Linked DNA regions of Homo sapiens: regions 1, 3 and 4 are each linked to region 2. Evidence: promoter capture Hi-C in 16 types of primary human blood cells and fetal thymus (Javierre and others, 2016). All regions are on one chromosome and are shown on one strand. The core of a region is centred on a gene start or on the middle of the fragment in contact, and the rest is flanking DNA. Distances in the headings are between cores, read along the strand shown. Region 1 overlaps ZNF559 (zinc finger protein 559). Region 2 holds the start of ZNF846 (zinc finger protein 846). Region 3 overlaps LOC105372269 (a long non-coding RNA gene). Region 4 overlaps ZNF559-ZNF177 (ZNF559-ZNF177 readthrough).

The links. The method cuts DNA at HindIII sites, captures the fragments that hold promoters and counts their contacts. A CHiCAGO score of 5 or more calls a contact.
Region 1: a fragment that was not itself captured here is called in contact with the fragment with the promoter of ZNF846 in region 2 in 1 of 17 cell types (naive CD8 T cells); the score reaches 5.0 in naive CD8 T cells.
Region 3: a contact is called between a fragment that was not itself captured here and the fragment with the promoter of ZNF846 in region 2, in 1 of 17 cell types (naive B cells). The highest score is 5.5, in naive B cells.
Region 4: a fragment that was not itself captured here is called in contact with the fragment with the promoter of ZNF846 in region 2 in 1 of 17 cell types (naive B cells); the score reaches 5.6 in naive B cells.

What each region holds. Positions count from the first base shown.
Region 1 is chr19:9,338,146-9,345,123 of GRCh38, reverse strand. ZNF559 (zinc finger protein 559) reads right to left here. Exons shown (of 7, transcript NM_032497.3): 4 at 6,542-6,630; 5 at 5,805-5,931; 6 at 3,940-4,022; 7 at 1-3,429. The coding sequence starts at 6,574. The coding sequence ends at 2,056. It overlaps ZNF559-ZNF177 (ZNF559-ZNF177 readthrough), which reads right to left. Exons shown (of 13, transcript NM_001384659.1): 4 at 6,542-6,630; 5 at 5,805-5,931; 6 at 3,940-4,022. Among named protein-coding and RNA genes, the nearest start is that of ZNF559-ZNF177, 17 kb to the right of the region's middle. The HindIII fragment of the contact is 871 bases long and covers 1,723-2,593 here.
Region 2 is chr19:9,766,303-9,773,795 of GRCh38, reverse strand. It overlaps ZNF846 (zinc finger protein 846), which reads left to right and starts at 5,058. Exons shown (of 6, transcript NM_001077624.3): 1 at 5,058-5,507. RefSeq lists enhancers at 4,774-4,993, 4,265-5,130 and a silencer at 5,074-5,243. The HindIII fragment of the contact is 9,482 bases long and covers 1-7,493 here.
Region 3 is chr19:9,443,446-9,450,957 of GRCh38, reverse strand. All of the region lies in intron 1 of LOC105372269 (a long non-coding RNA gene), which reads right to left. It also overlaps a transcript of ZNF560 not described here. Among named protein-coding and RNA genes, the nearest start is that of ZNF266, 12 kb to the right of the region's middle. The HindIII fragment of the contact is 171 bases long and covers 2,846-3,016 here.
Region 4 is chr19:9,369,813-9,377,472 of GRCh38, reverse strand. ZNF559-ZNF177 (ZNF559-ZNF177 readthrough) reads right to left here. Exons shown (of 13, transcript NM_001384659.1): 8 at 1,050-1,157. It overlaps ZNF177 (zinc finger protein 177), which reads right to left. Exons shown (of 8, transcript NM_001172651.2): 3 at 1,050-1,157. Among named protein-coding and RNA genes, the nearest start is that of ZNF177, 11 kb to the right of the region's middle. The HindIII fragment of the contact is 1,660 bases long and covers 877-2,536 here.

The DNA.
Region 1 (6,978 bases), core at 909-3,408, 430 kb after region 2:
AGATGCCAGACTATATGATTCCATTTATATAAAAACTGTACATAATATAAAGTCGTCTATTCTAAGAGAAAGCAAATCAGTGGATCAGGAGAGTGACAGGCAGGGAAGGGTGAGGAGAAGAAGAAATTATAAAAGGGCATGAGGAAACCATCTGGTTTGATAGGTATGTTCATTATCTTGATGGTGTGTATGTACACATATGTGTATGTGTCCAAACTTAAAGTGTATGCTAAAAACATGTGCAGTTTATTACATGGCAATTATATCTCAAACTTACTGAAAGAACCTGCCTCAATAATTCAAACCAAAGATTCTCAGCAACAGTGAAAAAAGATCATTAAATGTACACTTCACCAAAGACTCATAAGCATATGAAAGTGATGTTCAATATCATTAGTCTTTAAAGACATATAGAAAGGCAAACTTAAATAATTTATTTGGTTTTCTTTGCTGGCGTCAATTTTCTTTTTTTTTTGAGACAGGGTCTCATCCTGTTGCCCAGGCTAGAGTGTAGTGGCACGATCAGGGCTCACTGCAACCTCTGCCTCCCTGACCAGGCTCAAGCAATCCTCTTGCCCCAGCCTCCTAAATAGCTGGGACTATAGGCACAAACCAGTACACCCAGTTAATCTTATTTATTCTTTGTCAAGATGAGGTTTCACTATATTGCCCAGGCTGGTCTTGAACTCCTGGGCTCAAGTGATCCTTCTGCCTTGGCCTCCCAAATTGCTGGAATTAAGGTGTGAGCCAGCATGCCTGGCCAGTACCAATTTTCTTGTGTGCAATAAGTGAAAATTTGTACCCCTAAATGTTCCTCAATTCCCTATAACTAAGTTTTTCATTAAAAAACCCTCTGAGGATATTTTAATTTTTTTTTCTTTTTTTGAGATGGTCTTACCATATCATCCAGGCTGGAGTGCAGTGGCGTGATCTGAGCTCACTGCAGCTTCCGCCTCCCGGGTTCAAGCAATTCTGCCTCAACCTCTCGAGTAGCTGGGATTACAGGCACGTACCACCATGCCTGGCTAATTTTTGTATTTTTAGTAGAGATGGGGTTTCACCACGTTGGCCAGGCTGGTCTCGAACTCCTGACCTCAAATGATCCACTCGCTTCGGCCTTTCAAAGTGCTGGGATTACAGGAATGAGCCACTGCACCCAGCCTAAAATTGTTTTAAAGACTAGGGAAGTGTAGTAGTGACAAATGGGGGAAAGAGTGGAACTCCTCAATAATAAAGAGTTCCATCTGTAACCGTGAACAATTGAGATAACTCAGGATCTTCAGACCAGCTAGATATTTTTATTAATGATATATAACCTCTTTAAAACATGTATATTTACCAAAAGCATTCTGATATGGCATTCCTCTAGTGTGACTTTTTGCATGTAAATTAATACAGCCTTTTTGACCTTCCATACAGTCAGGTTCCTCTTCAGTGTGGATGTTTCCTAACGACCAAGTTCAAGGGCTTTCCAACATCTCTTTCACTCATGGGACTTCTCAATGTGTGCTTTGACATGTTCCCAAAGTGGAAGCTAAAAACAAAGAAGAATCTCCACACATTTTACATTCATAAGATTTTTCACACTTGTGAGATCACAGCTGAATATTAAGGTATAAGGCAGAGTGAAAGGTTTCAACACATTCCTTACAGCCAGAGGACGTGCATTTATATCCAATGTGCTCACAAGCTCAGTAAGGCCCGAGGAAAATAATGAAAGCTTTTCCACCTTCCTCACATTCATAGCATTTCTCTCCAGCATGAGTTCAAACAGACTCAGTAAGATGTAAGCATCGACAGGTTTCCTACGTTCAGTTTGTTTCCTAGGATGCACAGACACATGAATAGTAAGGCCTATGGAAGGAGCCAAGATTTTCCCACATTCCTTACATTCATATGTCTTCTCTTCTATTGGAATTGTTAAGATCTGAGACACCAAGGAAGGCTTCCCACATTCCTTATGACTGTGTACATTGCCACTATGAATGAGTACATGTTCAGTAAGTGTGAGGAAGTAGTGGCTTTACCACATTCTTTCCAAGTATCAGCCCCAATTCACACACATTCAGTAAGGCATGAGGAATTACTAAAGGTTTGCCCACATTCCTTATATGGTTTCTCCACACTATGACTTCTTAGATGTCGAATAAGATATGTGGACCGAGTAAAGGCTTTCCCACATTCCTGACATTCAAAGGGCCGTTCACCAGTGTGAGTTCTCATGTGTACTGTAAGGCCTGATGAGATACTGAAGGCTTGCCCACACTTTTGACATTTATATGGCCTCTCCCCTGTATGTATTCTTTTATGTTGACTAAGGTGCGAGGAGTATCTAAAGGCTTTCCCACATTCCTCACATTCAAAAGGCCTTTCTGCACTGTGACTTCTCAAATGTCGAATAAGAAATGAGGATCGAATGAAGGCTTTCCCACACTGTTGACAGTCATAGGGTTTTACACCAGGATGAGTCTGCATGTGACTTTTAAAGGAAGAGGAATTAATAAAGGCTTTTCCACATTCCTTACATTGATAAGGCTTCTCACCAGTGTGAGTTCTCATATGTACAGTAAGATGTGAAGAGTTAGCAAAAGCTTTCCCACATTCCTTACATTCATAAGGCTTTTCTCCAGTGTGAGTTCGCCTGTGTTTTATAAGACCTGATGAATCAGTGAAGGCTTTCCCACATTTGTTGCACTCATACGGTTTTTCTCCAGTGTGAACCCTTATGTGAATGTTGAGTTTTGAGAAACAAGTAAATTCTTTGCCACATTCATTACAAACATAGTGTTTTCCTCTAGTTCTAAGTCTTATATGTTTAGCAAGATCTGGGGAAAAAGCAAAGGCTTTGCCAAATTTCTTATGTTCTATAGGTAACACTCTACTATGAGTTCTTAAATGTTGAGTAAGATATGACGACTCAGTGAAGGGTTTCCCACATGCTTTACATTCATAGAATTTTTCTCCATCTTGAGTTTGCATGTGTACAAAAAGGGCTGTAGAATGAGAAAAGGTTTCGACATACTCCTTATGAGTATATGGTCTCTCTCCACCATAAATTCTTACACATTCTCTGAGGTGTGAGGAGGAAGGTAAGCCTTTTTCACAGTCACTGCATTTATATGGTTTCTCTTGAGTGTGAGTTTTCTTGCAAACAAGATGTAGATTTTGGCTAGTTTTCTTGCAAACAAGATGTAGATGTTGGCTGAAGGCTGTTTCACATTGATTACAGTTAGGAAGTTCCTCTCCGATATCAGTTTTCTTGTGTAAAGTAAAGATAGAGGGTTTTCTGAAGGCTTTTTCACATTGATTACACTCACAGGTTTTCTTTCTAAAGTAAGTTCTCCTGTGAGTCTTAAGGCATGAGTGTTCACTCAAGGCTTTTTCACATTGGTTAAAGTCAAACAGTTCCTCTCCAAAATGGTTTCTCTCCTGTTGGTGAAAATTAATGATGGTTCATAGAAGTTTTCCAAATTTATTTCATTGAGATTCTCCCTTTTACTCTGAATTCTGTTACACATGGAAAATAAGTTAGTATAATTGAAACTGTTTGTTCCTGCCATTTTCATTGCAAGGCATGGTTCAGACCTGAGTGTTTTCAAGTGGAACAAAGTGACTGCAGGAAGTTCTGTTATATTCTTTACTTTCAGAGGGCTTCTAAATAGAGCTTAGCTGATAACGGCCCAAGAGTGAATTATTTATCAAAAACATCTGAGATACATATGGGAATGTTGAAGGAAATATGTAAACAAATATATTCTGAGGGATGTTTAGAGTGTTTGTCAAACTCATGATCCATAGTCTCTCCAAGAGACAGATTATTTTTGGGTGAAAAACACTAGTCTCAAATGTCTCAAGGTTATTGTGCTGCTTTTCCATTTTAAGGAATTTCCAATCTTCCTCTAACATGGAAGACAATAAATTATACCTTCTGAATCTTACCATTTCCACCACACTGGATGTTTTCCCCTGCAAAAAATTCTGCTGAGGTGCTGACCATTTGGTATTAATATGACTCTCCCAATCTGAAATAAGATGAAAAAAATTTTAAGTTCTTAGAGAAATAATGATTTTAAAAAGGGTGTTAAAAATGCAAGACTAGTATGTACTGTAGTTTCAAACACTGGCTTGAAATATAGTTTGTTTTTTTAAAGAACGGGAAACATAAATTGAGAAATTTGGATGTAGTAAGAGTCTAGCAACAGTAAGGTACTGAGGTCAAGTTGGTAGGTGATTCACTAAGAAACGGTTCTCTAGGCTGGGTGTGGTGGCTCACACCTGTAATCCCAGCACTTTGGGAGGCCAAGACAGGTGGATCACAAGGTCAGGAGATTGAGTCCTGGCCAATATGGTGAAACCCCATCTTTACTAAAATACAAAAAAAAAAAAAAAATTAGCCAGGCAAGGTGGCATGCACCTGTAGTCCCAGCTACTCAGGAGGCTGAGGCAGGGGAATCACTTGAACCCGGAAGGCAGAGGTTGCAGTGAGCTGAGATCGCGCCACTGCATTTCAGCCTGGCGATAGAGCAAGACTCTTTTTTTTTTTTTTTTTTTTTTTTAGAGACAGAGAGAGAAAAAAAAGAAATGGTTCTCTAAACATTGAGACTTTATAGTGAACAAAAAAGAGGTACAGCCAGGGAAACAAAGTTGAAAGGAAATGGATACAGAGCTAAATGCAAATCATAAATTTAAAGGAGAAGTGAGACAGATCTTAATGTCAGAGCAAAAGAAAGTTTCCAAGATGGATAAAGTGAAAGAGAAGTTAAGGTACCCAAGGAACCTTGGAAACCAATTGGCCTTGATATTCTCCCCAAAAAAGTACACTTTCAAAACCTTCCTACTTAATATTTATAAACAGACTGCACCTCTCATAGATCAGGGCTGTTTCTCACAAATAATCACATCTGTCTTTTCTCTCATCTTGGAGAATTTTCTGCGCTGTCTTTAACTCTTCTTGTTTCACCTGAAAAGTCAAACTATGTTTGCATAGCTAGTACCCTGGTCTCAGGGAAAGATGAATGATGTTAGAATGTGCAAGGGATGGCTGGGCACAGTGGCTCATGCCGTAATCCGAGCACTTTGGGAGGCCGAGGTGGGCGGATCACAAGGTCAAGAGATCGAGACCATCCTGGCTAACACAGTGAAACCCTGTTCCTACTAAAAATACAAAAAAAAAAAAAAAAAAAAAAAAATAGCCAGGCGTGGTGGTGGGCGCCTGTAGTCCCAGCTACTCGGGAGGCTGAGGCAGGAGACTGGTGTGAACCCGGGAGGCGGAGCTTGCAGTGAGCCAAGATCACGCCACTGCACTCCAGCCTGGGTGACAGAGCAAGACTCTGTCTCAAAAAAAAAAAAAAAAAAAGTAAAGAATGTGCAAGGGATAACAAATGCTTCCATGTTAAGAGCTAAGATTTTGCTGTCTGGGCATTCTGAACCCTCTCAGATATAACTTAAATTACAACACAATGTTCATGACAAAAACTTTCAAGTGAACCTAAACTTCAAATACTCTTTTCTCATTCACTGTTCACCAAAAGGACTAGCAATCCTTCCCATGAAACCCAGGCTTAAGCTCATACACATATTCAAGAAGCTCTAAGTCTTTTATCCATGGAGAAAATAAAGCTAGAACAATGAACAGATCTTCAATTTCATCAGAAAAATCACAAGGCAGTAAGGTCTATGAGATGGAAACAATGTTTCGCCTGTTTACCAATGCAGCCCATTAACAAGCAGAGTCTAGAACATAGTTACTTAAGACACATTTGTTCCAGAAAAAAACTAAATGAAAAGAATGGTACCAGCCTTACCTACTGCAACTAGATTCTTATAGTTCTCCAGCATCACATCTCTGTATAAGTTTCTCTGAGTTTGATCCAGCAAAGTCCACTCCTCCTGGGTGAAGTCCACAGCCACATCCTCAAAGGTCACTGAGTCCTAAACCATCACACACATGCTGGCGTCAGGCAAGTACGTTCTCCACTATGTTGACTGGAGAATGAGGGACCTTGTCTTGGCATGCCTTGACAAGACTCTTTGGTCTCCTATCACTTGATGGTCCTCACTTTCTTCTCCCCTGTCTGTACATATTCACCGGTGATCTCATCTAGTCATATGGCTTGAAGAGCACCTCTTTCACCTAACTGAATATATCTCAGCACAACTAGATTGTGACTTCTTCTTATTGTTCTCTACTGACAGGTTTTAGCACAACCCTGAATACATTATAGACACTCAAATAAATGCTCCAGTGACAGCACAAATTCCGAGAAGCACATGTGCATTCTCTCCCTATCACAGCAAAATGAAAGCATATCAGCATGGATGACAGTCAGACTGAATTAGTAAACAGTGGGATAGTACAATCATTTCCCTGTGAAACCTGTCAACCATGTGAGAGGCCCTGTGGTCCGAAGAAGTTTGATGAGAGATGTGGTCCCTAAGCAGACCCTCTTTGCTTGCAGGGGCCCTGTTCCACTAGGAGAAAACACATCTACATGGTAGGAAGAAGCATATGCTTCTACAGAAAAAGCAATTTCCTACTTACCTGAGAGTAATTTGTCAACCACCCAGCCACCATCCTTTCCTCTTCAAATTTTGACTCATGAAGACAGAAAACATCTTGAGAAAGATGATCTTAAGAAGAAGAAATAAAATCTGAGAATCCAGGCTGCTGATAGCTTCCATACTCACAAGGCAAGAAGCCACCTCATACTAATGCTAAGTGGACACACACACGTTATAATAAAATGCCTGAGCAGCCTGTCTCACCTGAAGCCAGAAAATATGCTTCAGGCTTTGATGACCAGGAGAGAGAGAGTTTAACAATCCCATTTTATAAGGAATACAAAGTCCAGAGAAGTTAACATTTTCCTTATTTGCCAAAAAAGAAACTGATCATGTGATTAAGCAGAACTTCTTCCACAAAAGCCTGCATACTTACTCCTCCTTCCCAAATCCCAGGATTTAGACCACAGAATATTC
Region 2 (7,493 bases), core at 3,809-6,308:
CTTTTTCTTTTTTTGAGATGGAGTTTCGCTCTGTCGCCCAGGCTGAAGTGCAGTGGTGCAATCTCGGCTCACTGCAACCTCCACCTACCGGGTTCAAGTGATTCTCCTGCCTCAGCCTCCTGAGTAGTTGGGATTACAGGAGCATGCCACCATGTCTGGCTAATTTTTGTATTTTTAATAGAGACGGGATTTCACCATGTTGGCCAGGCTGGTCTCAAGCTCCTGACCTCAGGTGATCCTCCCACCTTGGCCTCCCAAATTGCTGGGATTACAGGTGTGAGCCACCGTGCCCAGCTGCAATTCTATGTTTCAAAATTAATTTTTCTTACTGAATTGTATTAGCTAATGCTTCCAGTACACACACACACAGACACACACACACACTCAGCTATAGGTACAGGCAATCATCTTAAGAAAGTATTCACTAATTTCTATTTTTCTGGAGTGCTGATATCAATAAGGGACATTGCACTGGGTGTGGTGTTGCACGCCTATAGCCCCAGCTACTCAGGAGGCTGAGGAAGGAGGATCCCTTGAGCCCAGGAGTTTGATCCAGCCTGCACAACATAGGAAGACCCTATCTCAAACAACAATAATAATAACAATAATAATAAATGAGTGTTGAATTTTTTCCAAAGGCTTCATCAGCATCTATGGAGAAAGTCACATGACTTGTTCTTGTAGATGTATTTTTATGGTGCATTATTTAATGGATTTTTTTTCTTTTCTTTTCTTTAGACAAGGTCTGGCTCTATCACCCAGGCTAGAGTGCAGGGGCATGGTCGGTTTTAGTTCACTGCAGCCTCCACTTCCTGGGTTCAAGCAATCCTCCCACTTCATCCTGAGTAGCTGAGATCACACACGACTAATTTTTGTCTTTTTTGTAGAGATGGGGTTTCAACATGTTGCCCAGGCTGGTCTGGAACTCATGAGCTTGGGCAATGCAACCTCCACCTCAGCCTCCCAAAGTGCTGATATTACAGGCATAAGGCACTGCACCTGGACTATTTAATGGATTTTCTAATAACTGCACTAATACTGCTGTTTTATGCTAAATTTCATGTGGGGATAGTTATTTTCTTAATGTGGTCTTGTATTTTATTTGCTAATAGCTAACAGCATATTTGAATCCATATTCATAATTGATATGGTTCTGCAATTTTTCATTTTTTGTACTCTACCACTTTTTTTTTTTTTCTGAGACGGAGTCTTGCTCTGTCACCACTGGAGTGCAACGGTATGATCTCAGCTCACTGCAACCTCTGCCTCCTGGGTTCAAGCGATTCTCCTGCCTCAGCCTCCTAAGTAGCTGTGATTACAGGTGCGTGCCACCACACCTGGCTGATTTTTGTATTTTTAGTAGAGACAGGGTTTCATCATGTTTGCCAGGCCAGTATCAAACTCCTGACCTCAGGTGACCCACTCACCTCGGCCTCCCAAAGTGCTGGGATTACAGGTGTGAGCCTCCATGCCCAGCCTCTACCACATTTTATATCAATGTTATACTTTCTTCATAAAAGGAATTAGGAAGTATTTCTTCATTTTCATTGTTCTTAAGTTATGGAGCACTGGGAATATTTGAACTTGGAAGGTTTGGTATAATTCTCCATTTAAAACATCTAAGCTCACATTTACAGTCTAATGATGGTTGACAAAGGTGTCAAAACAATTCAATGGGGAAAAATAGTATTTTAAATGAATGGGACATAGTCTTAAAAATGTCTGAAACAGGCTGGGCATGGTGGCTCACACCTGTATTCCCAGCAGTTTGGGAGGCTGAGGTGGGTGGATCACGAGGTCAAGAGACCGAGACCATCCTGACCAACACGGTGAAACCTCGTCTCTACTAAAAATACAAAAATTAGCTGGGCATGGTGGTGTGCACCTGTAGTCTCAGCTACTTGGGAGGCTGAGGCAGGAGAATCATTTGAACCCAGGAGGCGGAGGTTGCAGTGAGCCAAGATAGGCCACTGCACTCCAGCCTGGCAGCAGAGTGGAGACTCCATCTCAAAAAAGAAAAAAAAAAAGGACACTTGCACACACATGTTTACAGCCCACAATTTGCAACTGTAAAAATATGGAACCAGTCTCAATGCCCATCAACTAATAAGGGGATAACAAAAATGTGGTATATATACACCACAGAATACCACTCAGCTATAAAAAGCAAGAAAGTCATAGCATTCTGAGCAACCTGGATAGAGACTATTATTCTAAGTGAAGTAACTCAGGAATGGAAAACCATATATATGTTCTCACTTATAAGTGGGAACTAAGCTATGAGGATGCAAAGGCATAAGAATGATATAATGAACTTTGGGTGGGCGCAGTGGCTCACGCCTGTTATCCCAGCACTTTGGGAGGCCGAAGTGGGTGGATCACTTGAGGCCAGCAGTTCAAGACCAGCCTGGCCAACGTGGGAAAACCCCATCTCTACTAAAAATACAAAAATTAGCCAAGCATGGTGGCGCATGTCTGTAATCTCACTTACTCAGGAGGCTGAGGCAAGAGAACTGCTTGAACCTGGGAGGCGGAGGTTGCCAAGATCATGTCACTACACTCCAGCCTGGGCAACAGAATGAGACTCCATCTCAAAAAGAAAAAACAAAACAAAACAAAAAAGGATAGAAAGAAAGAATGCACTTTGGGGACTCTGGGGGAAGGGTGGGAGAAGGGTGAGGGATAAAAGTGGATAAAAAACTACACATTGGGTACATTGTACACTGCTCGGATGATGGGTGCACCAAAATCCCAGAAATCACCACTAAAGAACTTATCCATGTAACCCAAAACCACCTGTTTCCCAAAGGCTATTGAAATAAAAAATAAATAAATAAATAAACCTTTTTCCATTTTGGTTTACATTTATATTCTTTTTCTAGGTTTTATTTTTTGAGCTGGGGATTTATTTTTTATTTTTTATTTTTTTGAGACAGTTGTGCTCAGTTGCCCAGGCTGAAGTGCCGTGGCGCCATCTCAGCTCACTGCAACCTCCGCCTCCCAGGTTCAAGTGATTCTCCTGCCTCAGCCTCCCGAGAAGCTGGGATTACAGGTGCGCACCACCACGCCCTGCTGGTTTTTGTATTTTTTAGTAGAGACCGTGTTTCACCATGTTGGCCAGGCTGGTCTTAAACTCCTGTCCTCAGGTGATCCGCCTGCCTCGGCCTCCCAAAATGCTGGGATTACAGGTGTGAGCCACTGCACCCAGCTATTCTTATTTTTATTGACAAAAGTGTTTAGGAATATGAATGTTCCTTTGACCACTGCTTAAAATGCGTCTTGTATTATCCAAAAAAGCCAAAAAAAAAAAAAAAAGAGAAAACCCAATATCCAACAACTGATGTTATGATACAGCCATACAATGGAATCTTATTTAGTAAAAAAAAATTAAGTACTGATACATGCTAATTGGATGAACCTTGAAAACATTGAATGAAACAAGCCAAACACCACGTGTTTTATATTCTAATTCTACAGGCAATATCTACAGTAGGCAATCTATACAGACAGAAAGATTAGCTGTTGCTTTGGACTCTGGGGGTGGGGGTGGGGCTGGATGAGCAGATTGGGTGATCATGGCTAGGGTACTGGGTTTATTTTTGTGGTCATGAAAATGTTCTAAAATTGATTGTGATGATCGATGCACAAATATATGAATATACAAAAAGCCACGAAACTGTACACTTTAAACAGGTTAATTGTATGCTATGATAATTGTATCACAACAAAACTAAAGGCCTAAAGAAGGAACTGAATGTATCAGAGGCACAGAGCATTTTATGGATTAACAGGTTAATCTTTTTTTTTTTTTTTTTGAGACGGAGTCTCACTCTGTCGCCCAGGCTGGAGTACTGTGGCATCGTATCAGCTCACTGCAACCTCAGTCTCCTAGGTTCAAGCAATTCTCCTGCCTCAGCCTCTCGAGTAGCTGGGATTACAGGCGCCCACCACCACACCCGGCTATTTTTTAAAAAATATTTTTAGTAGAGATGGGGTTTCGGCATGTTGGCCAGGCTGGTCTCGAACTCCTGAACTCACGTGTTCCACCCGCCTCGGCTTCCCAAAGTGCTGGGATTACAGGCGTGAGCCACTGCCCCCAGCCCCATCAGGTTAATCTTTCAAACAGGGTGTCGCTGGTCTCGAACTCCTGGGCTCAAGCGATTCTCCCGCAGTAGCTAGGACTACAGCGGGATTATCTTTGTAAATATGTTTATATCCCTGCAGAGGGTTGAAGAAACAAGGAGAAAATCCTGCAGAAAAGAATTTCCCTAGGGTGGTGGCTCACGCCTATAATCCCAGCACTTTGGGAGGCCAAGGTGGAAGGATCACTGGAGCCCAGGAGTTCCAGATCAGCCTGGGTAACAAAGAGAGACCCTGTCTCTACAAAAAAATAAAAATAAAATAAAAATAAATTAGCCAGGCGTGGTGGCACACACCTGTGGTCCAAGCTGCTTGGGAGGCCGAGGGGGGAGGATCCTTTAGGCTCAGGAGTTCGAGACCAGCCTAGGGAACACAGTGAGACCCAAGTGTCTAGAAAAAGATAACTTAGCTGGGCGTGATGGGCCCAACTGTGGTCCAAGCTACTCCGGAGGCCGAGGCGGGAGGATAGCTTCAGCGCAGGAATTCCAGGCTGCAATGATCTATGACCGAGCCACTGCACTCCAGCCTAGGCGACAGACCGGAGCCTTATCTCAAAAAACTAAAAAGAGAAATTAAAAAAGAAAAGAAAAGCACTCGATGAGCATCCCGCTGTCTGCAATCGAAGCCTTAGGTGACGCCTCCACGCGTGCCCCGCCCGCTGCGCCAGTCCCCGCCTCCAACCCGGCCCTTGGCGCTGGGTTTCCTGGTCCGGCGTCGTTCCCAATATCGACAGATTGATCTGGATCCTGGTCCACCTGGGATGCGAGAAAACGGGACTTTTCTGTACGCGTGTCGAAGAGGTGGCCCCAGCTCTTCTCTCAGCTTCACATCATCCTCATTCCAAAGCTCTTGGGGCTCGGCCCCTACACTTAATGCCGTGCGCAACCGGAAGCGGAAGTGCCAGCCGGCGCGCAGCTATACGTATTCCCCGCTCTCCAGCAGCTTCCTAGCTGGGTTTTCACCTCAGCCAGCGCTCATGCTCAACCTAGGCAGGGCGGGGCAGGAGGGCCTAGCGGGAGGCGGAGCGAGGGTCGGAGGGTGACGCTCCGGACTTCTGCTAGGTCTGAGACGCGCCGGCCTCCCGCTGCTGCTCCGGAGAAGCGGCGCCTCCTCCCCGCCAGGACCCCGAGGCGGGGGGTTCCCGCCTTCTCTTCTGAGCGCCTCTTCCCGCTGCGCCCGCATCAGTCTGGGCCTGGCCCAGGGTCCCCGGTGGAGACGTGTTTTTTTCTCCAACCACCGTGCCCCTCTGTTTAAAAGCAGCCAGTCAACCTTTGTGTCCTTTCTCCAGAAGGAAAAGCATCTCAGCTGTTGTGGAAAAGGGCCCCAGCGTCCTCTTGTCACCGACAGGGCGATTGCAGTGCGTTCCGGTGAGCCCTGGACGGAGGAGATGATCTGGCTGTGGGAGGGCATCGCTTATTGAAGTTTGCGAAATTGCTCAGCAGTTAAATGCTTTGTCAAGTGTGCAGGAGTTGTAGGTTTATAGAAATAAAAGCAAATATTGCCACAGTTATAAAGCAAAGTAGCAATACTCCGCTGTGTTTTTGAGATCAAAAGCAGCTGAACTTCCTAGGTCAGTACCTCCCAAAGAGCTTCAAAACGGAGGGGCTTCCAGGAAGTAGGATGCCGCCTTCATTATACCAGTATCAGAAATTACAGTTGTATTAACTGTGAAAGAGACATGTTTTGATTCAGCGTTTTTCCTCTCGTATATATACATATTTTGAGACGGAGTTTCGCTCTTATTGCCCAGGCTGGAGTGCAATGGCGTGATATAGGCTCACTGTAAACTCTGTCTCCCGGTCCAAGCGATTCTCCTGCCTCAGCATGCTGAGTAACTGGGATTACAGGCATGTGCCACCACGCCCGGCTAATTTTGCATTTTTAGTAGAGACGGGGTTTCACCATGTTGGTTGGGCTGGTCTCGAACTCCTGACCTCGTGATCCACCCTCCTCGGACTCCCAAAGTGCTGGAATTACAGGTATAAGCCACCGCGCCTGGCCTTCCCCCTCATATATTTTTATTTATTTATTTACGTTTTAAAGACAGGGTCTTGGTTTGTTGCCCAGGCTATCTGTAGATTGAATATTCTAAACCAAAGAAAATGTGAAAGGCCAGAATATTGAACACCTATTATATATCCTTGTTGTAGACTGATCATTTGTTAATATTTTGCATGTTTTCTGTTTCTTTGCATCTCTTGTGTAGATCAATGTGTATTGGCCGGGTGCGGTAACTTAAACACCTGTAATCCTGGCACTTTGGGAGGCCGAGGTGGGCGGTTCACCTGAGGTTGGGAGTTCCAGACCAGCCCGACCAACATGGAGAAACCCTGTCTCTACTAAAAATACAAAATTAGCCAGGTGTGGTGGGGCATGCCTGTAATCTTAGCTACTCGGGAGGCTGAGGCAGGAGAATCGCTTGAACCCGGGAGGCAGAGGTTGTGGTGAGCTGAGATCGTGGCAATGCACTACAGCCTGGGCAACAAGAGCAAAACACCGTCTAAATAAATAAATAAATAAATAAAACTAGGCCGGGCACAGTGGCTCACCCCTGTAATCCCAGCACTTTGGGAAGCAGAAGCAGGAGGAGCCACTGAAGCTATGAGTTTGAGACAAGCTGGGACAACATAGTGAGACCCCATCTCTACAAAAAAAAAAATAAATAAATAAAAGCATAACTAAAGTCAGTGACAATATCAAGTCTTCTTTAAGATGTGCATGCATTGCTGAAGAGAACACTTTTTTTTTTTTTTTTTTGAGACAGAGTCTTGCTCTGTTGCCAGGCTGGAGTGCAGTGGCATGATCTCGGCTCACTGCAACCTCCACCTCCCGGGTTCAAGTGCTTCTCCTGCCTTGGCCTCCCGAGTAGCTGGAACTACAGGTGCATGCCACCATGCCCAGCTAATTTTTGTATTTTTAGTAGAGATGGGGTTTCACCATGTTGGCCAGGATGGGTTTCACCATGTTGGCCAGGATGGTCTCCATCTCTTGACCTTGTGATCCACTCACCTCGGCCTCCCAAAGTGCTGGGATTACAGGCGTGAGCCACCATGCCCAGCTACATTTTAAAACAGTGACAACTAAATATGGACTTGGTGATGCAACATGCATACGTGTGCCAGGCTAAATGTAAAAGTTATTTATCACATTATTTGAAATAGCCTAAATTAGGAACAACCCAAATGTGGATCCACAGAATGGGTGAATTGTGGCATATTTCTGTGGCTTTTTTTTTTTTTTTTTGTGACAGAGTCTTGCTCTGTCACCAGGCTGGAGTGCAGTGGCGCAATCTTGGCTCACTGTAATTTCTGTCTTCCTGGTTCAAGTGATTCTCTTGCCTTAGCCTCCCGAGT
Region 3 (7,512 bases), core at 1,682-4,181, 320 kb after region 2:
TCTTCTTGCAGAAACTTTAACCTCCTTGGTTAGATGTATTCCTAGGTATTTTATTTTGTGGTTATTGTAAATGAGATTGCATCTTGATTTGGCTCTCAGCTTGAACACTATTGGTGTACAGAAATGGTGATTTGGTGTGGTGGCTCATGCCTGTAATCCCAGCACTTTGGGAGGCTGAGGCAGACTGGTCACTTGGAGGCAGGGGTTCAAGACCAGCCTGGGCAACATGGTGAAACCCTGTCTCTACTAAAAATATAAAAATTATCTGGATATGGTGCTGCATGCCTGTAATCCCAGATACTCGGGAGGCTGATGTGCAGAGGTTGCAGTGAGCCGAGATCGTGCCACTGCACTCCAGCCTGGGCAACAGCGAGACTGTATCTTTAAAAATAAATAAACAAACAAATAAATGCTGATTTTTATACATTGATTTTGTATCCAGAACTGAATTGAGTTTTCTAAATTCTGAAGTTGTTTATCAGCTCCAGGGGCCTTTTGTCAGAGTCTTATAGAGTTTTCTATGTACAGACTCATATCATCAGTGAAGACAAATAGTCCTATTTGCGTGCCTTTTATTTCTTTGATTGTTCTGGCTGGGACTCCTAGTACTATGTTGAATAGCAGTGGTTAGAGTGCGCATCCTTTTCTTTTTTCAGTTTTTTTTTTTGAGACAAAGTCTTGCCCTATCACCCAGGCTGGAGTGCAATAGCGCGATCTCGGCTCACTGCAACCTCCGCCTCCCGGGTTCAAATGATTCTCCTGCCTCAGCCTTCCGAGTAGTTGAGATTACAGGCGCCTGCCACTGCGTCCAGCTAATTTTTGTATTTTTAATAGAGACAGGGTTTCGCCATCTTGGCCAGGCTAGTCTTGAACTCCTGACCTCATGATCCAGCTGCCTCAGTGTCCCAAAGTGCTGGGATTACGGGCACAAGCCATCGTGCCTGGCCTTTTTTCAGTTGTTTTTTTTTTTTTTTTTTTTTTTTGAGACAGAGTTTTGCTCTTGTTGTCCAAGCTGGAGTGCAGTGCAATGGCGCAATCTTGGCTCACTGCAACCTCCGCCTCCTGGGTTCAAGTGATTCTCCTGCCTCAGCCTCCCAAGTAACTGGGATTACAGGCACAGACTGGCACACCTGGCTAATTTTTGGACTTTGAGCAGAAACGAGGTTTCACCATGTTAGCCAGGATGGTCTCGAACTCCTCACCTCAGGTGATCCACCCACCTTGACTTTCCAAAGTGCTGGGATTACAGGCATGAGCCACTGTGCCCAGCCTTTTCAGTTCTTAAGTGGGGTGCTTCCAGCTTTTGCCCATTTAGTATGATGTTGGCTGCAGCTATGTCATAGATGGCTCTATTATTTTGAGGTATGTTCCTTTTTTGTTTTTTTCACTTCATATGGTGCTGACTTTCTAAGTTTTTGCTGTAGGTGTTTTAGCACTCTAAACATTTCTCTTAACCCTGCTTTAGCTGCATCCCAGAGATTTTGGTATCTTGTTTTTTTGCCTTCATTAATTTCAAAGAATTTTTAAATTTCCACCTTAATTTAGCTGTTTACCCAAAAGTCATTCAGAAGCAAGTTGTTCAATTTCCATGTAATTGTGTGATTTTGACAGATCTTGGTATTGATCTTTATTTTTATTTCTATTTCACTGTGGTCTGAGAGTATGGTTGGTATGATTTTCAAATTTTGAATGAATTTATTGAGACTTGCTTTATGGCTGAGAATGTGGTCTTTGAGTGTTCTGTGTGCAGACGAGAAGAATATGTATTTTGTGGTTGATGGGTAGAATGTTCTGTGGATATCTATTAAGTCCAATTGGTGAAGTTTCAAATTGAAGTCCAGAATTTGTTAGTTTTCTGCCTCAGTGATCTAACACTGCCAGTGGGGTGTTGAAGTCTGCCACTATTCTTGTTTGGCTGTCTGTTTGTAGGTCTAGAAGTACTTGTTTTATGAATGCGAATGCTCCAATGTTGAAGGTTAAGTCATCTTGTTGGATTGAACCCTTTATCATTATATAGTGCTCTTTGTCCTTTTTTCCTGTTGTTGGTTTAAAGTCTATTTTATCCAACAAAAGAATAATGATCCGTGCTCTTTTTTGTTTTGCATTTGCATGATAGCTCTTTCTCCCACTTTTTGAGTCCATGGGTGTCTCATATGTGTGAGATAGGTCTCAGAAGGATAGTACTTGTCGTTTTTATCCAGATTGCCACTCTGTCCCTTTTAAATGGGGTGGTAAGACCATTTACATTCAAGGCTAATATTGATATGTGAGGATCTGATCCTATTATGAAGCTGTTAGGTGGTTGTTTTATAGTTTCTATTTTGTTTTTGCTTCAAAAGGTCTGTGGGCTGCGTACTTAGGTTTGGTTGTTTTGTGGTAGCAGGTATCATTCTTTCGTCTTCATGTTTAGAACTCCGTTAAGGGGCCAAGTGAGGTGGCTCATGCTTGTAATCTCAGCACTTTGGGAGGCTGAGGAGGGTGGACACCTCAGGTCAGGAGTTCAAGACCAGCCTGACCAACATGGAGAAACCCTGTCTCCACTAAAAAAAAAAAAAAAAAAAAGCCAGGCATGGTGGTGCATGCCTGTAATCCCAGCTACTCCGGAGGCTGAGGCAGGAGAATCACTTGAACCCAGGAGGCAGAGGTTACCATGAGCCAAGATCGTGTCATTGCACTCCAGCCTGGGCAACAAGAGTGAAATGTCTGAAAAACAAACAAACAAACCCCCCGCCACACGCACACACAAAAACTCCATTAAGGATTTATTGTAAGGCTGGTCTACTGGTAATGAAATCCCTTAGTGATTGCTTGTCTCTAGAAATGTTTATTCTACTCTTATGAAGCTTAGTTTGGTCAGGTTTGAAATTCTTGGTTTGAGTTTCCTCTTCAAGAATGATGAAAATAGGCCCCCAGTCTTTTCTGGCTTGTAGGGTTTCTCCTGAGGAGTCTGCTATTAGCCTGATGACGAGATTCCCTTTGTACCTGATGTGCCATTTCCTCTAGCTGCCTTTAAGCTTTTTTCTCTAGCGTTGACCTTAGGCTGGTGACTGTATGTCTTCGTGGTGTTCATTTTATGTAGTATCTGGCAGGTGTTGTCTGGATTTCTTACATATGGATGGCTACCTCTCTAGCACAATTAGGGAAATTTTCTTAAATTATTCTCTCAAGTATGGTTTCCAGGTTGCTTACTTTTTCTCTTTCTCTCCCTGGAATGCCAGTTATTTGTAAATTTGATCACTTTACATCATCCCATATTTCTTGGGGACTTTGTTCCTTACATTTTTTTCTTTGTGTTTGTCTGACTGGGTTAGTTGAAAGACCAGTCTTCAAGCTCTGAAATTCTTCTGCTTGGTGTAGTCTGTTGATGAAGCTTTCAATTTTATTTTAAAATTCCTTAAGTGAGGTTTTCAGTTCCTGTAGCTTTGATTAATTACTTCTTAAGATGTTTATTTCTTATTTTGTTGATTGCTTTATGTTTGTGTTGATTTTCAATCTTGTCTTGGATCTAGCTGAGCTTCCCTGTAGGCCAAGCTTTGAATTCTCCACCTGTCATCTCTGTGCCTCCATTTTGGAAAGGGACCATTGCTGTAGAGTGAGAGTGACCCTTTGGTGGTGTCACAACATTCAGCTTTTTCATGGTGGCAGAATTCTTACAGTTTCCTTCTCATCTGGAGAGGGTTGGGGCTAAAATATAGAAGAATGTGCTTCTAATCTGTGTCAGATTGTTGGTAGAATTAATTTTGTTATGGCTGTAGAATTCCTTACAGCTTATTTTGTCAATGCCAGCAACAGAGAGTATGTCTATTTTTTTTTTTTTTTTTTTTGTGACGGAGTCTCGCTCTGTTGCCCTGGCTGGAATGCAGTGGCGTGATCTTGGCCCACTGCAACCTCCGCCTCCCAGGTTCAAGCGATTCTCCTGCCTCAGCCTCTCGAGTAGCTGGGACTATAGGCACGCGCCACCATGCCCAGCTAATTTTTGTATTTTTATCTAGAGATGGGGTTTCACCATATTGGCCAGGCTGGTCTCGAACTCCTGACCTTGTGATCTGCCCACCTCGGCCTCCCAAAGTGCAAGTGTGAGCCATGGCATCCAGCTGTCTGCTATTTTTTAGTCACTGATATCCAAATCCCCTTTGAAGGGACTCATCTAATTTTGTCAGGTGAATATCTCTAGATATCTCTATACTATAAGTAAATCAAGTTCTCCTAGGAATATTCTAGGAGATTATTCGCTTTGTGTAATGTGTAATCGACTGAATAGGGACTTGAATTGTATCTGGAAAATTCCTTCATTGTTGCCACATAATGTAATACAGTTGACTGACATTGCATCACTTTTGCTATATTTTCTTGATTAGGAGGAAACTGTTTATCCTACCAACACTCAACAGGAGGGGATTATACCAAGGCATACCAGAGTGCAGGACTCATAAGCACCATCTCAGAATTCTGCCTACTATACAGGTAAACCCCCTAACGTGGATGAATCTCACAAACATGATGTTGTGAAAGAAACCAGAAGTAACAAGAGAATGCATCCTATATTTTATGTGTGTGTGTGTGTGTGTGTGTGTGTGTGTGTGTGTGTGTGTATGACTTGGCAAAATTGGTTCTGGTTTAGGGAAAGGTGGAGTAAATGCAGTTATCCTGTCTGTCCCACTGAATGTCCCACCTGGACAGAATGCATCAGCTATTTGAAGAATCTGAAAAGTAAATAGCAGCAGGGAGATGGAAAAAAAAATCAGCGTTCAAAGTACCACCAAGCAGGCAGTAAGTTTACTAGTTTTACCCCTTCTGGTTTCATCTGGTCTGTACTCAGTGTGGCTGAAAAACCAGAGGCACACATCATGACCAACATGGAGAGTTCCAGAAGAAGCCCTCTGGTTCTGGTAATATCAACAAGGGGGTGGGAGGGGTGGTTTCTAATGCTCAGTGAGAAAGAGAGGGAGATTAATACCTCAGTTTGTTTTCTCCATTTACTTGGTTCCAGCCTCCAAGCAATCCTGTGGTGGCAATGAGACATACCATAGACTTTGAGAGCTGGAATGTGAGATAGATGACCTTCTGTGTAGTCTAGCCTCCAGGTAGAGACACAAAGCATACAACAAAATCTTTGAAAATAAAGCTCTCATTGAAACCACAACTCAGAGCGTTGACTAAAACTTGCAAGCTGAACCCAACTGGGTAATTGTCCAGATTAAAAAAAAAAATCAGCTGAGTGCAGTGGCTCATGCCTTTAATCCCTGCACTTTGGGAGGCCGAGGCGAGTGGACCACGAGGTCAAGAGATCGAGACCATCCTGGCCAACATGGTCAAACCCCGTCTCTACTAAAAATACAAAAATCAGCTGGGCGTGGCAGTACATGCCTGTAATCCCAGCTACTAAGGAGGCTGAGGCAGGAGAATCGGTTGAATCGGGAGGCGGAGGTTGCAGTGAGCCACGATCACACCACTGCACTCCAGCCTGGCGACAGAGCTAGACTCCATCCAAAAAAAAAAAAAAAAAATCTACGTTCTCCATAGGACTTAAAGGCCCAGAGTGTTATAATATTCAAAGTGCCCTGAATATAAACCCAAACTATTCAGCATACTAGCAGCAGAGCCTCACAGGGCTGTGTAACAGTACAAAAGGCTAACATTCATGATATTAGAGTCCTAAAAGAAGAAGAAGATGTGTGATGCAGTAAGTTTTTGAAAAGGTAATGATGAAAAACTTCTCAAATTTGATGAAAGACACAAATATTCAGATTCAAGAAATTTAATGAACCCAAAACATAACCCCAAAGAAATATAAGCCAAAACATATAATAATTAAAGTTGTGAAAGCTAAAGATAAGTAGAACATCTTGAAATTAGCCTGGGAAGTAATAACATGTTACTTATAAGAGAACATTTCGTGGCTCATGCCTATAAATCCCAACAATACTTTGGGAGGGTAAGGCAGGCAGATCACTTGAGCCCAGGAGTTCGAGACCCGTCTAGGCAACATGGAAAAATCCCACCCCTACAAAAAAATTAGCTGGGTGTGGTTGCATGTGCCTGTAGTACTTTGAGACCCTGTCTCAAAGTAAATAAATAAAAGAACAGTTCAGTTGACTGTGGATTTCTTTTTCCTTCCCTCCCTTCTTTCCCCTCCTTTCCTTTCCTCCTTTCCCTCTCTCTTCTCTTCTTTCTTTTTTCCTTCCTTCCTTTCTCCCTTCCTTCTCCTTCCTTTTTTTTTTTCTTTTCTCTTTCCTTTCTTCCCTTCCTTCTTCTCTTTCTTTTTCTTTCCTCGTTCTTTTCTCTTTGTTTCTTTCTTTCTTCTCCCCCCCTTCTCTCTTTCTTTCTTTCTGAGATGGAGTCTCACACTCCAGGCTGCAGTGCAATAGCACAATCTCGGTTCACTGCAACCTCCACCTCCCGGATTCAAGCGATTCTCCTGCCTCAGCCCCCCGAGTAGCTGGGATTCAGGTGCCTGCCACCGCACCCATATAATTTTTTGTATTTTTAGTAAAGACAGGGTTTCACTATGTTCGCCAGGCTGGTCTCGAACTCCTGGCCTCATAATCAATCCGCCTTGGCCTGGGATTATAGGCATGAGCCACCACTCCTGGCCGACTGTGGATTTCTTATAGAAACTATAAAGGCCTGGGCATGGTTACTCATGCCCTGTAATGCCAGCACTTTGGGAGGCCAAGGTGGATCACTTGAGCCCTGGAGTTCAAGGCTGCAGTGAGCTATGATTACATCACTGTCATCCAGCCTGGGTGACAGCAAGACCCTGTCTCAAAACAACAAGCAAAAAAACCCACCAATGGCTCACATCTGTAATCCCAGCACTTTTGGAGGCTGAGGTGGGCAGATCACTTGAAGTCAGGAATTCAAGACCAGCCTGGCCAATATGGCAAAACCCTGTCTCTACTAAAAATACAAAAATGAGCTGGGCGTGGTGGCACACATCTATAATACTAGCTACTGGGGAGGCTGGGCACAAGAATCACTTGAACCTGGGAGGTGGAGGTTACAGTGAGCCGAGATCACGCCACTGCACTCCAGCCTGGGTGACAGAGTGAGCCTCTGTCTCAAAAAACAAAAAACAAAAAAACAAAAAAACACACCACCATAAAGGCAAAGAGCAAATTAAATGACATTTTTTAAGGGCTGAGAGAAAAGGAACACCTTAAAGTTTCTTTGGATGGCTATGTGAAATACTTTCTTAGACTTCTGCCCTCTTAGTTTGTTTGTTACCTGCGTGCAGCCAGCTGCTCAAGCTCCCAGGTCACACCATCTGCACGCACAGGAACTGTGTGTGTGTGCGCGTTTCTCTGTGTGTGTGCATGGTGATTCTGCGCGTTTCTCTGTGTGTGTGCATGGTGATTCAAAATGTGGAATGGCTTCCATGTATTCATGTAGTGGAACTGTGCGTAGGCCTGGATTCACATGCCTCTTTCATATCCTTGTGGTCTCCTTAAGGGACTTTTTTTTTTTTTTTTTTTTTTTTGAGACGGAGTCTTGTTCTGTCTCCCAGGCTGG
Region 4 (7,660 bases), core at 457-2,956, 390 kb after region 2:
AACATGCACGGAGCTGACATCTCCTATGGTGACAATGACTTCTAGAATGTCTTCTGAAGCATCTGCTTGAGGCTTGTTTTTGAGTTAACTTTTCTTTTTTAGTAAGTAGAAGGAATACATTCTAAAATAACAATAAATAGTATAAAAATATATAAACCAGTAATGTGGTCACTTATTACTATTCATTATTATGTACTGTATATAATCTACTGTACATAACCATATTTACTACTGTTACATGACTGGCAGTGCAGCAGGTTTAAATGACAGACATGTGAGTAATGTGCTTTACAATGTTACACTGGCTATGTCATTAGGTGATTGGAATTTTTTAGCACTATTAAAATGTTATGAGAGCACTGTCACATATGTGGACCATCACTGACCAAAATGTCTTTACACAGTGCATGACTGTACTGCCAACCAAGAATGTTTTACCTGCCAAAAATGGCCTTCAGAAATGAAGGAGAGATAAAAACTTCCTTGGACAAACAAAAGATGAGGGGCTTCATCAGTAATGGAGCTGATTTATAGGAAATAGTAAATTCTTCAGCTTAAAAGAAAGGACACTTAGTAACATGAAACCATATGAAATTATAAAACCCACTGGGGTAAAGGTAATTATATACTCAATCCAGATTACCCTAATACTGTAACAGTGGTATCTAAATAACTTATCTCTAGTGTAAAAGATTAAAAGATAAAAATATTAAAAAGTTATAATAATTTGTTAATATACAATATAGAAAGATGTAAATTGTGACATCAAAAACATAAAATGTGGGAAATGGAAGAGTATAAATTGTTTGTATGCAATCAAAGCTAAGCTGTTAACAGCTTAAAACAGACTATTAAAACTACAGGATGTTTTAAGCTTCATAGTAGCCACAAAGCAAGAACCTATATTATGGAGAAAAGAGAAAGAAATCAAAGCGTATCACTACAGAAAGTCATCAAATCACAAAGGAAGACAAGGGAGGAAGAAAGCAACAAAACATCTGTACAACAGCCACAGAAGAATGAACAAAAAGGCAACAGTAAGTACTTACCCATCAATAATTACTTTAAATATAAATGTACTCAGGAGGCTGAGGCAGGAGGATCACTTGAGAGCAGGAGTTTGAGACCAGCCTAGGCAACACAGCAAGACCGCATCTCTACAGAAAACAATTTAAAAAAATTATTTGGGTGTGGTGGCATCTGCCAGTAGTCCCAGCTACTTGGTGGGCTAGGGTGGGAGGATTGCTTGAATCTGAGAGTAGTGGGAGTATGATCATGCCACTGCACTCCAGCCTGGGTGACAGAGACCCTATCTCCTTAAACAAAAAAGTAAATGGATTAAGTTCTCTAGTCAAAACACATAGTGGCTGACTGGATTAAAAAAGAAAGACCTAAGGTATATGCTGCCTACAAGAAGCTCACTATAGCTTTAAGAATGCATGTAGCCCGAAAGTAAAAAGATGGGAAAAGACATTCCACGTAAATGGAAACCAAAGAGAGCAAGGGTGAGTAGGAAAGATCTTATACCAGCTTAATGTTACACCTCAAGTTACTAGAAAAAGCAGCAGCTAAGCCCAAAGTCAGTAGAAGGAAAAAGAAACTAAGCCCAAAGTCAGTACAAGGAAGGAAATAATAATAAAGATCGCAGCAGAAATAAATGAGAGACTAGGAAGACAATAGAAAAGATCGATGAAACTGAATGTTGGTTGTATGAAAAGATAAACCAACAAAAACCTTTAGCCAGACTACTTAAGATTAAAATAGACAAGACTGAAGTAAAACTAGAAATGAAAGAGAAGGCATTACAACTGATAACCACAGAAATATAAAGGATCATGAGACCATAATGAAAAATTATATGCCAAAAAATTGGATAACCTAGAAGAAATGAATAAATTCCTAGAAATATATAACCTGCTAAGACTGAATCATAAATAGAAAACCTGACAAGATCAATAATGAGTAAGGAGATTAAATCAGTGAGGAAAAATCTTCCATCAAAGAAAAGCCCAGGACTTGGTGGCTTCACCGTTGAATTCTACCAAACATTTAAAGAATCCTTCTCAAACTCTTCCAAAAAAATGGAAAAGGAGCCCAACCAAACTCCTCATTAAACTCATTTTATGAGGTCAGCATTACACTGATACCAAAGCCAGACAAACACTGTAAGAGCAAAAAACTACAAGCCAATATCCCTACTGAAAATAGATGCAAAACTCCTCAATAAAATACTAGCAAACCAAATTCAACAGTACCTTAAAAGGACCATACACCATGATCAAGTGAGATTTATCCCAGAAATTCAAGGATAGTTCAAGATACGCAAAATCAATGTGATACATCACATCAACAGAATGAAGGATAAAAACTATATCATCATTAGAATAGATGAAGAAAAAGCACTTGGTAAAATTCAGCATTCTTCTGTGATAAAAACCCTCAACGAATTAGTTACAGAAGGAAAGTACTTCAACACCAGTAAAGGCCATAGGTGACAAAACCACAGCTTACAGCCAATTATAAAAAATTGAAAGCTTTTCCTCTAAGATTGGGAACAAGGCAAAGATGCCCATCCTCACCACTTCTATTCAACATACAACTGAAGTTCTAGCCAGAACAATTACGCAAGAAAACAAAAGGCGTCTACGTTGGAAAAGAAGTAAAATTATGTTTGTAGATGACATGATATTGTATCTAGAAAACCCTAAAGACACCATGAAAAAATGTTAAAACTAACATGTAAATTCAGTAATGCAGGGTAAAAAAAAATCAACATACAAAAATTAAATGTATTTCTAACAAACTATCTAAAAAAAACTATGAAAATAATTTCACTTATAATAATATCAAAAAGAGTAAAATACTGACAATAAATTTAACCAAGGAGATGATCTCAACACTGAAAATTCTAAAACACTGGTGAAAGTAGAAGACACAAACAAATGGGAAGCCACCCAGTGTTCATGGATTGGAAGAATCAATATTGTCAAATGTCACACTATGAAAGGTGATCTACAAATTAATGCAATTCCTATGAAATTCCAATGATATTTTTTACAGAAATAGAAAAAACAATCCTAAAATTCATATGGAAACACAAAAACTCCAAATAGCTAAAGCAATCTTGAACAATACTGGAGGCATCACACTTCCTTATTTCAAATATATTACAAAGGTACTGTAATGAAAATAGTATGGTACTGGCATAAAAACGGAGACAAATGTAACAGAATAGGAAGCCCAGAAATAAACCCTGGCATGTATGGTCAACTAATCTTGGACAAAGATGCCAAGAATAAGCAATGGGGAGAGGACAGTCTCTTCGGCAAATGGTGTAAGGAAAACTAGATATCCACATGTGAAAAAGTGAAATTAGATCCTTAAACTACAAACAAAAATCAACTCAAAATGGATTAAAGACTTAAATGTAAGACCTGAGATCATAAAACTTCTAGAACAGGGGAAAAGCTCTTTGATATTAATTTTGACAAATTTTTTTTTTAAAGAGTTGACACCAAAAGCACAGGCAAGAAAGGCAAAAATAAGTGAAACTACATCAAACTAAAAAGTTTCTGCACAGCAAAGGAAATAATGAACAAAATGAAAAAGCAACCTTATGGAATGGGAGAAAGAATCTGCACAATATTTAAAATATTTACGAAATACATACAGTTCGATAGAAAAAAATGGAATAAAAAATGGGTAAAGGATCTAAATAGACAGTTTTCCAAAGAAGAAATAAAAATGGCCAGTAGGTATATGAAAAAGTGCCCAACATCACATTATTAGGGACGTACCAATCAAAACCATAGTTGGCTGCTACCTCACACTTGTTATAATAGATATTATCAAAAAGTCAAAGGATAACAAGTGTTGGATGTGGAGAAAGGGAACCCTTATACATCGTTGTTAGAAGTGAAAATTGGTACAGCCATTATGGAAAGCAGTAGTGGAGGTGCCTCAAAATATTAAAAATAGAACTACCATATGATCTAGCAATCCTGCTACTGGGTATATAACCAAAGGAAGTGAAATCAATATCTTAAAGAGGTATCTGTGACCTCATATTCATTGCAGCATTATTTATAATAGCTGCTATATGGAAACAACGTGTTTGTCGATTGCTGAATGCGTAAAGAAAATGTCATATATATACACACAGTGGGTTATTCAGTCTTAAAAAAGAAGGAAACCTGGAGAACATCATGCTAAGTAAAATAAGGCGGACATAGACAAATACCGCATGACCTCACTTACATGGAATCTAGAAAAGTCAAACTCCTAGAAGCATTAGAAAGGTGATTACCAAGGGGCAAGGGAAATGGGGAGATGTTGGTCAATGGGTATGTATTTGCTGTTATAAGATGGCTGAGTTTTGGAGACCTGATGTATGGCTTGGTGACTATAGTTAATGATGTACTGTATATTTGAAATTTTCCAAGAGAGTGCATCTTACAAAAGTAAGTGAGGGGATGGATATGTTAATTAGCTTGACTGTGATGATCATTTCAGAATGGACAGGTAGATCAAAACATTATGTTGTACACCTTAAACATATATAATTTTTATTATTTGTCAATTATACCTCAAGAAAGCTGGAAAACCATGCTTCAGAAAAACAAAACTGGCAGGGTGTGGTGGCTCACGCCTGTCATCTCAGCACTTTGGGAGGCCAAGGTGGGTGGATTGCTTGAGGTCAGGAGGTTCAAGACCAGCCTGAACAACATGGTGAAACCCTTTCTCTATTAAAAATACAAAAATTAGCCAGGTGTGGTGGCAGGTGCCTGTAATCCCAGCTACTCGGGAGGGGAGGCAGGAGAATTGCTTGAACCTGGGAGGCAGAAGTTGCAGTGAGCTGAGGTCATGCCACTGCACCTCAGCCTGGGAGACAGAGCAAGACTCCATCTCAAAAAAAAAAAAAAAAAAAAAAAAGGAAAAGAAAGCTCAATGATGAAAGGAAGCAAGGGAGAGAACAGATGTAATAAGAATGGCAAAATGGTGACAATCATTGAAGCTGGGTGGTAGGTACATAGTGGCTTTATAGCACTCTATTCCTAGGTATGACTGAAAATCCACAGTGAACAGTTTTTTAAAAAGAAAGTAAAATTTCCATATGAAAGCGTGAAGCAAGGAACTGTACCCATCAGGTATAATAAAAAGCAAATCTCTCTTGAGGATCTGTATACACAAGTGCTCTCTTTTAGATTTCAGTCCAAATTCATTTCTGTAGTTCAAACAACCTCAAGGGAATAATTTCACTTAAAGAGGGTCCTAAGTGGCATTGTCCCCAAGCAACTAGTGCAAGCAAATCGACCTATCTCTGGAAAATCAACTTTAAGTCAGGTCTTGAGAAAAAATCTTATATACAAAGTTCTAAGTAAATTGAGGAAGGCACAGTTTAAGAAATTGTGAAACACAAATACACAATGTACCATGTGTAAGACATAGCTAACACACAGGTGTCAGGTGGTAAAAAGCATAACACTTTGGATATTACCCTTTTAGATATATTTTAAAATATATAAAAGCTTAATAAAAATTTGAATGGATATAGATTAAGATACTATAAAATGGTTAGTTTAAAAAACAATTTTTAGAAATGAAAAATAAACTCACTGAAATGAGAAATTCAGTGCCAGTATTAACTACCAGATCAGAACTTTGATCGCACTATTAGATGAAAACCTAGCAATTTTCTTGAATTAGTGAAAGACACTAACCTTTGGGTACTAGAAGTATCATAAGCCCCCAAGCTGAATACATAAAAAGAAATCCACATCTAATTTCATTATAGATTTTTCTTCCTTGGTATTTGATTTTTTCCCATAATTTCCAAAGCAGCCAGGGGAAAAACACAGGTCACCTATAAAAGGAAAAACAGACTGATAGCTGACATCTCAACAGCAACAATGGACGTCAGAAGAAAGCAGGACAATGTCTTCAGTATGCTGAGAAAAAAATAACTTATCAACCTAAAACGCTAGACAAACTATCTAACTACTCTTTATAAGAAATACAAAGATAACCAGGTTAAGCAATGAAAACAAACCAGTCAGCAAAATCCATATATGATGTGGGACATTTTAAGAACAAATAACTTTATTTCTTCAATAAATCAGTGGATTAAAAAAATGAAAAGGGAGGAGGAAGAGAACAGACACAATAGAAACTTAAGGGGTCTAAAATAAAAAAAAAATGTTGGGACCCTGTTAAGATTCTCATTTGAACAAACCAAATGTAAAAAGATATTCTGTAGCCAATCAGGGAACGTCAGACTTTGTTAGGTGGGATAATGGAGTAGTGGTGATGAACCAACTAGAGATGCACAGTTAGTAATATACTGATGAAATGACAGGATGTCTGGAATTTGCTTTAAAAACAAATCTGGGGGGAAAACCCAGCATTATTCAATATTTATTTGCAGTATCTAATACAGTAACCACTAATCATGTACGGATAGCTACTGAATACTTGAAATGAGCATTTAAACTTCAATAGCCACATGAGGCTAGTGGCTACTGTATTGGACAGCTCAGCGCTAGATGATGCAAGATGTGCAAAATATTGGTAACTGTCAAAGCTGGGTGTTAAGGACATGAGAATTCATTATACAGTCAGCCCTCTGTATCTGTTGGCTACTCGACCACAGATCAAAAATATGTGGAAAAAAGATGAATGCTTGTGTCTGTACTGAACATGTAGACCTTCCCCCTTGTCATTATTCCTTAAACAATACAGCATAACTATTTATGGCCCGGCACAGTGGCTCACACCAGTAATCCCAGCACTTTGGAAAGCTGGGGCAGGAGGATGCCTTGAAGCCAGGAGTTTGAGACTAGCCTGGGCAATAAAGCAGCACCCTGTCTCTACAAAAATATGTATCTATTTTAAATTATCCAGGCGTGGTGGCGCATGCCTGTGGTCCCAGCTACTAGGGAGGCTGAGGTGGGAGGATTACTTGAGTCCAGGAGTTTCAGGCTGCAGTGAGCTATGATCACACCACTGTACTCCAGCCTGAGCAACAGAATGAGACCCCATCTCTTAAAAAAAAAACAAAAAAAAAACAAACCAACCACTTACATAACACTTATTGTACTAGGTACTGTAAGTAATCTAGTGATGACTTAAAGTAAATGGGAGGGAAAAAATAGCATCTATGGGAGGATGTGTGTAGGTTCTATGCAAATACAATGCTATTTTATATAAGGAATTTGTGACTGTGGAATTTGGAAGCCATGTGGGGGTCCTGGAACCAGTCCCCCATGGATATGAGAGACAACTGTACTATTCTACTTTTGTGGAGAATTAAAAATTTTCATGATTAAAAGCTTAAGAAAAATAAATGGAGAGTCAAATAAAGGCATTTTAAAATAAAGACCTGAGACAACTTACCCATCCAAAAAGACCATCACAGAAGTAACTTAAAAGTACTTCAGGAGATAGGAACTGGAAGACCCAAAATGTTAAGTAGAATGAACAAAGGTAAAATGGATAAAATTAAGCAAACCTTTATTATATAAAATGGTAATAATACCAAATTCGTGACATGGAAAAATAAGCTCAATCCTAATACTAAATAATATATAAATTGGGAAGGAGGTGATTGAGTAGTATGTTCCTTGTATTCTTCCACTGGGGACTCACAATATTGATTAGGTTT